2 separate regions of the Homo sapiens genome follow, and region 2 is linked to region 1. The links are contacts of gene promoters, found by promoter capture Hi-C in blood cells and fetal thymus (Javierre and others, 2016). All regions are on one chromosome and are shown on one strand. The core of a region is centred on a gene start or on the middle of the fragment in contact, and the rest is flanking DNA. Distances in the headings are between cores, read along the strand shown. Region 1 holds the start of NASP (nuclear autoantigenic sperm protein). Region 2 holds the start of PIK3R3 (phosphoinositide-3-kinase regulatory subunit 3).

Region 1 (6,425 bases), core at 1,309-3,808:
TGAAAATACTAGCCAGGCTTGGTGGCTCACGCCGGTAATCTCAGCACTTTGAGAGGCCCACGTGGGTGGATCCCTTGAGCCTAGGCGTTGGGAGACCAGCCTGGGCAACATGGCAAAAACTCGTCTTTACAAAATAAATACTAGAATCAGCTGGGCCTTGTGGTGTGCGCCTGCAGTCCCAGCTACTCGGGAGGCTGAGGCCGGACAATCACTTGAGGCCAGGAGGTAGGGGCTGCTGTGGGCCGAGATGGCATCACTGCACTCCAGCCTGGGTGACACACACACACACCACACACACACACACACACACACACCACACACACACACACACACACACACACACACACACACACACACACGGCACGGTAGGGGCTGCAGGGGGCCGAGATGGCATCACTGCACTCCAACCTGGGTGACAGAGACCCTGCCCCCCCACCCCCACACACCCAGCACATATAATTGCTCAGTTTTAGCTTTCAATTTATGCTGTGAGGAACTAAATGGTTTGCTTTCTTCTAGCCACATATACATAAACTTTCTCTATGTATAACCTGCCAGGAAACTAAATTCACTAATGACCTAACTCTGGCTAGACACAGGGGACCTGCAAGAGGTATTTGTTGCATACTTCTACCTCAAAAAACAAAAACAAAAACACCTGGCCCTGCGCCGTGCCTCACGCCTGTAACCTCAACACTTTGGGAGGCCAAGGCGGGAGGACTGCTTGAGTCCAAGAGTCTGAGACCAACCTGGGCAACATTAAGACCTTGTATCTACAAAAAATTGGCCAGGTGTAGTGGCACACCTGTAGTCCCAAGCTACTAGGGAAGATCAGTTGTGCCCAGGAGTTCGAGGTTGCAGTGAGCTATGATCACAACACTACACTCCAGTCTGGATGTGAGATCCAGACCCTGTCTGCAAAAACAAAACAAAAACACACAGCTGTCAGTGAAATACTGACTGCTAGAGCTGTCTAGGAAACATTATAAAAAGCAGCTCTTTTTATAATAGCTATAGCACGACTCCCAAGCCCAATCTATACTGCTTATATCGAATCAATGGGGAAAGAGGCAGGTAATGGGAGTTTGAAATTAAAATTGTATTTCCCATGAGTTCCCAAATGATTCTCAGGGTGACTTGAGAACCACTGCTCTACAAGAACGCAGAGAGAAAAGGTGGTAAGCAGAGATATACGTAAATCTCTAACTATAAACAAACAAAGACATAATCATGACAGAGTGTAAGCCTATAGAATATCAATTTAAAAAACTTCACAGCAACCATTCCTTTTACAGGGAAGGCAACTAACCTCTAAAGCGCACAAGATTAGAAAAAAAAATAGAACCAGATGCCTAAAAAAATATGGCAAGATTGGGAAATCAGACCTACTGTATGGGAAACAGCACTTGTTTCCTTGAACTCGTGTAGTGTTTCCCTCCACTGTTCAAAAAACAGATTACGCCTGAGTGGCACTGTGCCGCTTTCAAAACAATCCTATCTTGTTTCCCTCCAGTCCTTCTCCACTTCGTGCATACTACTGCCGATTCACCTAGCAACCAAACAGTGCTGGTGAGAGCTCCAGACAGCGCTTCCTGAAGACGCTTTACGTCCGGTAATGTTCCCCCCAAACAGACACCACCTCCAAAGTCTAAAGAACGACAATCCTCCCCACCACAGGCAGGGGCTCACGGAGTCGCGGGGAGCGATAACTATCTCCCAGCACAAGACGTGAGCGAGGTGTCGGGGGGAACTAGCCTCGCCGGCCCCACGGAGATAGTCCAAAGCTCCTGCTGGAGCCGCAGCGGCCCCAAACAATGGAGTTTTCCCGCCTCCTCAAGGCCCCGCCCCCTGCCCCAGGGCCGGCGAGGGAAGCGAACGCACGCGCGCAAAACCCCGCCCTCAGCAAGGCCCCGCCCACCCCGACCCCTCAGGTCCAGCCTCCTTCCTCGTGCAAGGTTTTTTTTCCCTTTTGGCGCCAAATCTTCGTTGGTTATATTCCCGGGTTATCCAGGGGTTCTACCAGAGGCACACGCTGGGGACAGAAGGGGCGTGAAGGCCAACCCGCGCGCCAGGGCCCCGCCTCCCGGCCAACCGCCCCGGGCTGGGGGAGGAAGGAGAGGGGCAGGCGAAGGATACAGCCGCCGCTGCCCCCGGCAAGATGGCGGCCGCGAAAAGCGGGGCAGGGGGCGCCAGCCGACCGCCGTTACCGCTGCTGCGCGAGGCTCTCAGCAAAAGAAGGACTGCTCCAGTGACCAGGCCTTCCCGAACAGCGACAGCTGCTCTTGGGAAGGCAAGTACTCCCGCCCACCGGTCTGCCCCTTCTCCGGAGCCCCCGTCCATTAGCCCTCCCCGCGGACTGGCCAGTGCCTTAAGCTTTCCACAGTCCCGCTTACTTGTCGGCAGAAACCAGCTCCGCGGCGACGGCGGCAGTGGCTGTGGACTCCATGGCCATCGTTCCCCTGAGGTGGCGAACCAGCGAACGGAATAGAGCCTGCGAGAAAAACAGGCAATTTGGGACGCCAGAGACTCACTCAGGGACAGAAAATGGCAGATTAGAGACCCCGCGCGGCCGGGGCCCTTTTATATACGAGGACCCTTCGCCCCGCCCATCCACTTCCGGATCCTCCCCCTCGGGTTTAAAGGGCCAGGACTCACCACCCATACCCTCCGTCCCCCGCCGGCCTACCACTATCTAGACACCTCCTGCCCTCTCCATATGGCTCCGCGGGATTGTTTCCCTCCCTAGCCCGACTTCTCCAATAAACAGCAACTTCCTGCTTCTCCAGCAAGTCGCATAAGAAGAACTGGAATCTTGACACTACAACTCCTGACAGGACGCCCCTGCGGCATCCAGAGACAGGGAAGCCAGTGCTGCTCTGCATGTTCAGGGCGAGTAGCTGAGAGTCTCCTTCCGGCCTGGATACTGAGGAAGGTGACTTAGACTTTCTCTCCGTCCTCTGAGTCGTAACGGACGGACACGCAAGGGCCGAGGACGGGTACAAGCAGCAGCGACTAGAACTGATCTGGGTGAGATCTAGGCCTCAGCAACAACTGACGCAAAAAGATTTTGTTCTAGGATTGGCTACAGCTGAAACTACCGCGCTTGATTCAAAGCTCGGGGCTTGCAGCGGGAGGCAGCTGGCTCCTCCCTCTGAACCCGCCCCCTTTGGCTGGCCCAATCCGCTGATCCCATCCTCTTAGGCCCTGCCCAGACTCCAAATCTACCAGAATTAATGCTCCCAGCGCTGTTTGTCCACTCCTGCCTATGATTTGCTGTGTGACTACTACTCGTGGGGGTACCGTGATTAGACGCTTTAAAGCTATTAGCTATCTTGTTTAATATTAACAATGCTACTAGTGAGATCAGTGTTAGTCTGTTTCTTAGAAAAATAAACCAAGGGGCCGGACGCGGTGGCTCACGCCTGTAATCCCAGCACTTTGGGAGGCCTAGGCTGGTGGATCACGAGGTCAGGAGTTCAAGACCAGCCTGGCCAAGATGGTGAGACCCCCCCGTCTCTACTAAAAAATACAAAAATTAGCCGGGCGTGGTGGCGGGCGCCTGTAATCCCAGCTACTCGGGAGGCTGAGGTAGGAGAATACTAGAACCCGGAAGGCAGAGGTTGCAGTGAGCCGAGAGCTCGCCACTGCACTCCAGCCTGGGCAACAGAGCGAAACTCCGTCTCAAAAATAAATAAATAAATAGGCCAAGGTTCCAACCTGGCCAACATGGTGAAACCCCGTCTCTACTAAAAATACGAAAATTAGCCAGGTGTGGTGGCAGGCTCCTGTAATCCCAGCTACTCGGGAGGCTAAGGCAGGAGAATCACTTGAACCCGGGAGGCAAAGGTTGCAGTGAGCCGAGATCTCGCCACTGCACTGCAGCCTGGGCAACAGAGCGAGACTCCGTCTCAAAAAAAAAAAAAAGGGGAAGCTGTGACTTGTTCAGAAAGTTGCAAGACAAATCAGTTATGGAAAGCAGTGTGCCTCATTTCCTGCAAATGGCTGAGTGAAAAATAACTGGCAGGCTAAAAAGCTGCAATTCCTCACACCTGGAGTATCATCCATTCCTTTTCACCATGGCCCAGTCTACGCTGATCGGAGTAGGGGTTTTTATTTCCCTTTAGGTTCCAGCATATTGGGAAAGATTCCTGGAGAGGATTCTTATTCCAATCTGTCAAGGCTCGAAGAGGTTGAAATCTTTGGGGCTAGAGAGCTGGACGTGAAAATGCCAATTCCTATGGCAAACATACATGGGCTCTTCCATTATTAGCTAGGTGACGTGAGCCAGGTCACGTAACCCGGATTGTAATCGAGTAGCTGGGATTAAGGTTAAGTGTAAAATGAAGACATATTAGTAGCCACCGCTTAAGGACATTGTGAGAATTACAGGTAATTAGCACTGTGTAGAATTCACGCTAAGCACTCATTGAATGGCTACCACAGTCTGATGATGTGGTAAATGGAGGGTGTTGGGAGGGGAGATCTCTCCAAAGTCCTTGCAGCCAGGGCTAGGGCCTGAGAAAACCTCTGCAATTACTGGTGTGACCGATTCATCCATTAAATTAATATTCACTGAGCAACTTTGAGGTACAAGACTTTGTACTAGGTTCTGGGGACAAAAGACATGGACTCTACCTTGAGGAACTCAGAGAAATATATTTTAAAATATATTTTAGGCTGGGCGTGGTAGCAGGTGCCTGTTATCCCAGCACTTTGGGAGGCTGAGGCAGGCGGATCACTTGAAGTCAGGAGTTCGAGACCAGCTTAGCGAACATAGTGAAACACCATCTCTACTAAAAATACAAAAATTAGCCGGGAGTGGTGGCAGGCTCCTGTAATCCCAGCTACTTGGGAGGCTGAGGCAAGAGACCCACTTGAACCCAGGAGTTGGAGGTTGCAGTGAGCTGAGATTGCACTACTACACTCCAGCCTGGGCGATGGTGAGTCTCCATCTCAAAAAAAAATAAATAGCTGGATGCAGGCCGGGCGCGGTGGCTCACTCCTGTAATCCCAGCACTTTGGGAGGCCGAGGCGGGCAGATCACCTGAGGTCAGGAGTTTGAGACCAGCCTGGATCCCCTGGTGAAACCCCATCTCTACTAAAAATACAAAAATTAGGCAGGCGTGGTGGCAGGCGCCTGAAATCTCAGCTACTTCGGGAGGCTGAGGCAGGAGAATCGCTTGAACCTGGGAGGCAGTTTGCAGTGAGCCGACATCGTGCAACTGCACTCCAGCCTGGCAACAGAGCGAGACTTCATCTCAAAAAATAAATAAATAAAATAAAATGAATAGCTGGGCACAGTGGCTCACGCCTGTAATCCCAACACTTTGGGAGGCCAAGGCGGGTGCATCACACGGTCAGGAGATCAAGACCATCCTAGCCAACATGGTAAAAACCCATCTCTACTAAAAATTCAAAAATTAGCCGGACATGGTGGTGGGGGCCTGTAGTCCCAGCTACTCAGGAGGCTGAGGCAGGAGAATCACTTAAACCCAGGAGGTGGAGGTTGCAGTGAGCTGAGATCGCACCACTGTACTCCAGCCTGGGTGACAGAGTGAGACTCTGTCTCAAAAATAAATAAATAATAAATAAATAAAAATAAGGCCAGGCAGGGTGGCTCACGCCTGTAATCCCAGCACTTTGAGAGGCCGAGGCAGGCAGATCACCTGAGGTCAGGAGTTTGAGACCAGCCTGGCCAACATGGTGAAACCCCGTCTCTACTAAAAGTACAAAAATTAGCCGGGCATGGTGGTGGGCGCCTATAATCCTAGCTACTCAGGAGGCTAAGGCAGGAGAATCGCTTGAACCTAGGAGGCGGAGGTTGCAGTGAGTCGAGATTGCACCACTGCACTCCAGCCTGGGCAACAGAGTGAGATTCCATCTCAAAAAAACAAAAAATAAAAATTTTAAAAAATAAGTATATTTTAAATCCATGTACTTTTTAAATTTTTTTTGAGACAGAGTCTCACTCTGTCGCCCAGGCTGGAGTGTGCTGTCATGATCTCAGCTCACTGCAATCTCCACCTCCTGGGTTCAAGTGATTATCCTGCCTCAGCCTCCTGAGTAGCTAGCATTACAGGCGAGCACCACCGTGCACAGCTAATTTTTGTAGTTTTCGTAGAGATGGGGTTTCACCACGTTGGCCAGGCTGGTCTTGAACTCCCGACCTCAGCTGATCCACCCACCTTGGCCTCCCAAAGTGCTAGGATTACAGGCATAAGCCACCATGCCCGGCCTGTTTTCCTCATGTAACCCCAGGAATTAAAAGTCCTCAAAGGCCAATGGTCCAAATAGGAGATTGGCAAATGAAGGATCTTGTGGGGGCTGGGTTTTCTTCTGCCTGTCCGTGGAGTTATATACGTGTTGTGTGTGACGTCTATAGAAATAGCTCTAATTAATTGGCCTAAAGGAAGATAAGCACTTGG
Region 2 (5,890 bases), core at 1,710-4,209, 550 kb before region 1:
AAAGAGGAAGAAATGAAGCATATTTGAACAGTTGCAGAAAAAAACCATACCAGGGTGAAAAGTGAAGGGCATCCTAGCCATTTGGAGTTACAGAAAAGTACTATTAATCCTAAATACTTAAGTGGCATATTTTTTCATTCTAAGTGTTTCACTATAAACTAAGCAGCTTGCATAAATCTATTTCATAGATATATAAATGAAAGCAGATTTCATGATTTACCTAAGACTACTTTAAATTAAAAAAAGAAAGGGAGAGGGCAAAGGAAAACAAGCAGCTCCCAAAGTAGCAGGTTGTGACCCAGGAGCTTGAGTGCTTAGAGCTGAATTTAATCCACACCCAGGTCAAATATAATTCTCCAACTTGGAAGTGGTCCAGGACACCCGAGCTAACATTTTTTACCTTTGCCAAAGAGCCTGGGGCAGTTTGGTGACAAGCAATCACAACCTCACTTCTATTTCTCAACTGAAAGAAAGACCAGAATCATCTCACAGGTGCTTTCCCCCATGGCAGGGCACTGGTTTAAGCTCAAGGACTAAGAAAGTTTGCTTCCCCTTGATTCATCATTGCCTCTTGCATCACTTATTCTCTGGAGATATATTCAAAGGTCTATTTAAGTTGGAGAGTTGGGTCATACAATTTTAGGTGGAAAGACTGAATCACAGCTTTACTCCATGTGTCAGCCTTGACCACTTGATTATATACTGTGCTTGGACGTCACTTCATCTCTCAAAGCCTTAGCTGTGGGAAAAGCCTGGGTGATTGCTCTGTGTATTAGAAACTGAAACCCCACCACTAAATGCTGAAAAGTGGTCCAGGCAAAAGGTGCTGTGGAAATCTGAAAGCCATTATCTTTTCCACACTTCCTCTCTCTTCACCCTCATTTTGTTTGGGAATGCACATGAACACCCGTGAACAAAAATAAACCAACCCACCCTTGACTGATTGTTCTGTCTTTTGAGTTATCAAACTTGAGTGCTTCTGGCTCCCAGATATGCTGAAGTAGAGACTGCTGGGAAGGCAGCCACAAATTAGAGTTGATCTTCCAGTATCTTCTACCTGTAAGGAATGGTTCAGGAAATTATAATTAATGAGTCCTGCCCCAAAGTTGAAATCATATTTGGATTTCAGAAATAATAAGAAAGCATATAAGAATCCTGGTGTCTTTTCTTAGCTCAACCATGTCCATCCATACTTTCTGGCCCTTTTAAACCAGTTACTCTATACCCAGTCCATATACATTTTGACTGTCTGCCCTCAGGAACTGTCTCAACTCAGGGCATCTTTAAGGAAGGCAGAACCACCTTAGGAGGTAGAGGGTGAAACGTGGCAACTCTTCCATAGGCGAATCAATATAGCAGACATGCTCAAGGTAGGAGGTTTTGCTAGGGCTTAAATCAGGCTGTCAACTCAAACACAATGGGCTTTGTTACTCCTGTGTAAAGAGGAAATGGAGCAGTTTTTGGCCTCCTCAGACTGTATTGTAGGGTATACAGGATGGCAATTCCAGGCACAATCTTCAGGAGACACAAATCTGCTTTTAGCTATTCAGTGTTCCCCAGCAAGTTAATTAGCTGTTTCTGAAATGCATGGAAATATTCAGCATTTTCATAGTGAAGCCAATCTCCCAGATTTAAGCTTTGGGGGTGGGAATGAGTATGTGAGGAAGAGGGTCTGTCAGGGAAACAGAATAGAGCCCTTTTGGTGAGAGATTCCAACACCTGTGACTTATCTTAGAAATTACACATGCACTGTAATTCCAAGACTTTTTTTTTTTTTAATTGGTTTGAGCACTCGAGCAGGAGGGCTTGCTGAGACCTCTCACTATTTTAGGCGTGGGGAGTTACCTCTGGGTTCAAAAGTCTTTGGGTGGGAAGCACAGAGGAACTGCGAAATGCCTCCCTCAGAAATGTCCAATTGCTCAAGGGGAGAAGCAGGGAGTGGGGTCAGGTAGCAGCCAGGAAGGTTGCAGGGGCCACGGGCACATCCTCTCCCTGAGTGGTAAGGTGGCAAGTGGGTTTGGGGACCATTGCTTTGACAACTTGTCAAGGGTGCGGAGAGGGCTGTCCCAGCAAGGTGAAGAGGTCTGTAGGAAAGGAGTCTCCCCAGAGACCTCCTAAGGACCAGAAGAGCGCGCACCCCGCCAAGTGACAGAACGTGCCCCCTCTGTGTCCGCTCCCTTCCCCCGCGGCCAATCACCGGGCAGAGGCGTCTCACGCCAGCAGGTCCTCCCTGGCTCCTCTCCTTACTCGTCCGGGCGGACCAAGCCTCAGCAGGAGCCCCGCCTGTCTCCAGGCAGTTTGAGCCCCCGAGCGCTCGCCCAGCCTGTCAGTAACCGCCGTTTGCGTTTTCTTCCTTTCTTTCTTTCTTTTTTTTCCTCCTCTTTTCTTTTCCCCTTCTGCCTTTGTCCCGCTTAGTAACTGGGCTCTGACCAATCGCCGCCTTACCGGCCGGCGCCGGCTGTCTCCTGATTGGCCCGCTTGGGGCGCGCAGCCGTCTCCCGCTCCTTCGCAGGAGCAAGGCAGACAAAAGACGCAGGCTCCAGGCTCCGGCAACCGGCCTCAGCCAATCACCACCCACCTTGCCTCTCTTCCCTCGCCCCACTCCCTCCTCGCCTGGCTCGCGTGCTCCCGGCACTGACTCCTGGAGTGCGGCCAGCGCCCGGATCGTACCATTCTGATTGAGGCTGGGGGAGAGCGCGGATGGCTGATTGGGGAGCCGAAGCCTAGAGAGCGGTGGGGAGACGTGAAAGTCGAGATGGAGAGCAGCTTTTTGAACATGTTCTCAGGCACTTGACAGAATCCCGGTACATCGAGGCGGGACGGCGTGGAAGGGGCGGTGGTGATGCCTGCTGTCCCCCCTCCCGGCGCGGTTGGGTGGCGCCTCAGCGGGTGGGCAGCATGGGGCGGGGAGGGTGTCCCCTCCGCGCCGTTAAAATGAAACTCTAGTGGCTGGAGTCCGGGCAGAGCTTGAGGGCAGTTGGTGCGGTCGGGTTGGTTCTTACACCCCGGCGGGAGCGCCCAGACAAGCCGAGCTGACTGGACTTCTCCGGCCGGCCCCATTCCCGAGGCTGCGGCAGCTTCGGTTCCGAGACCGACCGGAGAGGAGCCCGAGTCCCGGCCTCTGGGGGATTCGCTCTCTGCAGACCAGTGGGACCCCGAAACTTGAACGCAATCTCCAGCCCCCTTTTTTGCCTTCCTTTGTCACTTGCCCGGGTTTCTCCCAACGTGTTCTTTTTTTTCCTCTTCATTCTCCCTCCTTCGAAGGACACAAAAGTGGCTTCCGCGGAAAGATTTGGAGGCGGTGGGAGCTTTTCTCCCCGGAGAGCGACTGTGTAGAAAGGATTTTTGGGAAGCCGCTTTTTAACACCTCTGCTCTCCGTCCCCCAAGCCTCTGTGTAATCCTCTGAGGAGAAAAGCCCATAGCTTGAAAGTTCGGGGGCATTTTGTTGTGTTCTGTAGGAGAGAGGGGGAGGACCCTGTTCGGGTAGTTTGGCCGGACTGGTACTGGCCGTTGGAAAACCCGAAGTACATTTCCGTGTGGAACTTTTGCAGATATATATTTTTAGATTTTTAAATACCAGATAAAAAATATATGCCTTCTATATATCTCCTGGCGACCTGCCCCTGACAGCGCGATGTACAATACGGTGTGGAGTATGGACCGCGATGACGCAGACTGGAGGGAGGTGATGATGCCCTATTCGACAGAACTGATATTTTATATTGAAATGGATCCTCCAGGTACTTGGGAGAAAAAAAAAAAGAATCTCGTGATGGGTCTGATTTGTATTTACCAAGAGCTTGCTGATGTTTTCAGGGCAGAAGTATTCCTGGGTGCGCTAGGTTCGGGATGAGGAGATTTGCAGTTACAGCTGCGGTAAAACTGCTTCTGGTTTACACGTTTAAAGTTTGCAGTTAGGACCCTGATCCTATTGTCCTGCGAAGGTGGGGGTGGGGGCTGGAAGTGGGGGTGGGAGGAGAGACCCCTTTTTAAAATTATCATTATTTTTTACTTTGCCTTTGCGTGTCGTTCAGGTTTTTCTTGTGCCCGCCACTTTATTTTATTTTTTTCTTTTTCAATTAAAGACTCTTCTACCTGCAAAGGATGTTTTATATCCCGGGGTTAAAACCAGTCTTTCACTTTGGGCGAATTCTTGAAAGCTTGTCCTTTCATACATTTGTCTAATTTGGTTCGTTGTGTTTTACCCCGGTTAACTTCTGAAACTGAGTTATGTGATTATTCATTGTAAGACTCCCTTTTTCTCTTGCAGAAACAAATGCCGGTTAGTGATTTTTTTTAGGGATTGGGCGTTCGTATTCAGCCATGGTCTTAGTCTGAGGTTTTCCTTCTCAGAAGATAGTCGCTCAGAGAAATCTACGTGCAATATTTTATTACTCTTTAATTTAATGATGATTTAACTTAATTTATGGGATAGGGTTTAATGTAACTTCAATTCCTAGAATAAAGAAAAAGCAAAAACAAAAACGAGGGAACCTTTCTGTTTCCTGTGAACGTGTGATATATACATATGTGTTCCTATACACGTAATGTAAAGTATACATATATAGCACTATATTTTTATTTTAAAGCTCTGTCTGACGCTATTACAGACATTTTGTGTATCTGGTAGGAAAGGAAAAGGAAAGCAAAATGGAAAAGTTGGCTTTTTTTTCCTTTAAAGTCTACCCCATTTTATGATTATTAGCTGTCAGATTTTCTCAAACCCTGTTTGCAGTTACAGATGGTGTTTTATGTAATGATTCTGAATAAGTAGAGAGCCTTTGTGACTCCTTGTTTCTGTCGAGGATGAATTCTTTATGTATTTTAAAACGTGTTATGGCTAAGTCTACAGAATAAAATGTGTGTCATTGGGGAACCTCGTTTATTATAAGACTGTATTTTTGGAAACGTTTGAAAGGATTTGAGCCATGCAAGTGTGAAGAAGTGTAACTGTCTTATAGAAGGTATGTAGAAATTGTTTCCTGTGTCCTTGCAAACGGTGAATTATCCTGTTTTTTTTTTCAATTAGTCAGTGTTAAATGGTGCTGTACTAAAAACTAGTATTGAATAAACCTTTTTCACTCTTGATGATCACTTAGAATTTTTTTCTTTTCCTTTATTTCAGAGCTTTATTTGCTTTTATAATTGTGACTGCAATCCAGATGCAGCTTTTCAGTGTTTTGTAAAGTTTGTAAGATTTGCCACCCATCTATTGTGTCTTTCCCCCTTTGTTTCCCCCTAACGGTAAAGCATGTTAGATACATTTGTCATACATATGAATAGAAATTTAGTACATCACTGGTACTTTTATTGTAAAAAGTAAGGTTAATAATTCTAGATTCCTGTTATAAGAATTATATATTCAAACTGCCTTAGAATTATACTGCATTATATAGTACCTTGCCTTGCAGACATACAAAGGGAATTTGTTGGGTGGGAGGTGAGTAGGGAGGAGGGGAGAAAATGAAGAATGCACTTATGGTTGAAATATATTAGCCTAGTAGAAAAATACTGGTCAAGTTGAGTTGAGTTGTCCAAAAATAATTTTAAGAAAAGTTGACTGTTATAACTATATGGAGACGTGGGTCTTATAAGGTTGTATAGAAAATTCTGATCCAAACTTTATTTTCCATGGAAATAAACATTTGAGTTTAAAATGTTCATCCTTGAATGAAATTGTGCATACTGAGATTCTATTGAGAATACTGAAAAATACATATGCTGTTCTTTATTACCCCTTTTGTAGCTTTAATGTAGAATATGGTTAGTTATTCCTAACAGCTTTTTGAAAACGAAGCACACTTGAGTATGCTGAAACATTGCCTATGAAGTGAATGGTTTTTCATGGAAATAGTGTGAATGTCAACCTTGTTTTATGTGATAAATTAA

Evidence for each region. The method cuts DNA at HindIII sites, captures the fragments that hold promoters and counts their contacts. A CHiCAGO score of 5 or more calls a contact.
Region 2: a contact is called between the fragment with the promoter of PIK3R3 here and the fragment with the promoter of NASP in region 1, in 2 of 17 cell types (fetal thymus and erythroblasts). The highest score is 7.1, in fetal thymus.

Annotation. Positions count from the first base shown.
Region 1 is chr1:45,580,174-45,586,598 of GRCh38, reverse strand. NASP (nuclear autoantigenic sperm protein) reads right to left here and starts at 2,558. Exons shown (of 15, transcript NM_002482.4): 1 at 2,394-2,558. The coding sequence starts at 2,452. RefSeq lists silencers at 1,863-2,162, 3,073-3,132 and enhancers at 2,663-2,972, 3,423-3,482, 3,893-3,942. The HindIII fragment of the contact is 9,802 bases long and covers 2,376-6,425 here.
Region 2 is chr1:46,129,698-46,135,587 of GRCh38, reverse strand. PIK3R3 (phosphoinositide-3-kinase regulatory subunit 3) reads left to right here and starts at 2,959. Exons shown (of 10, transcript NM_003629.4): 1 at 2,959-3,741. The coding sequence starts at 3,636. The region is part of intron 1 of P3R3URF-PIK3R3 (P3R3URF-PIK3R3 readthrough); the gene reads left to right. It overlaps LOC101929626 (a long non-coding RNA gene), which reads right to left and starts at 2,217. Exons shown (of 3, transcript NR_125987.1): 1 at 2,198-2,217; 2 at 934-1,057. RefSeq lists enhancers at 2,177-2,406, 3,647-3,696. The HindIII fragment of the contact is 2,525 bases long and covers 1,639-4,163 here.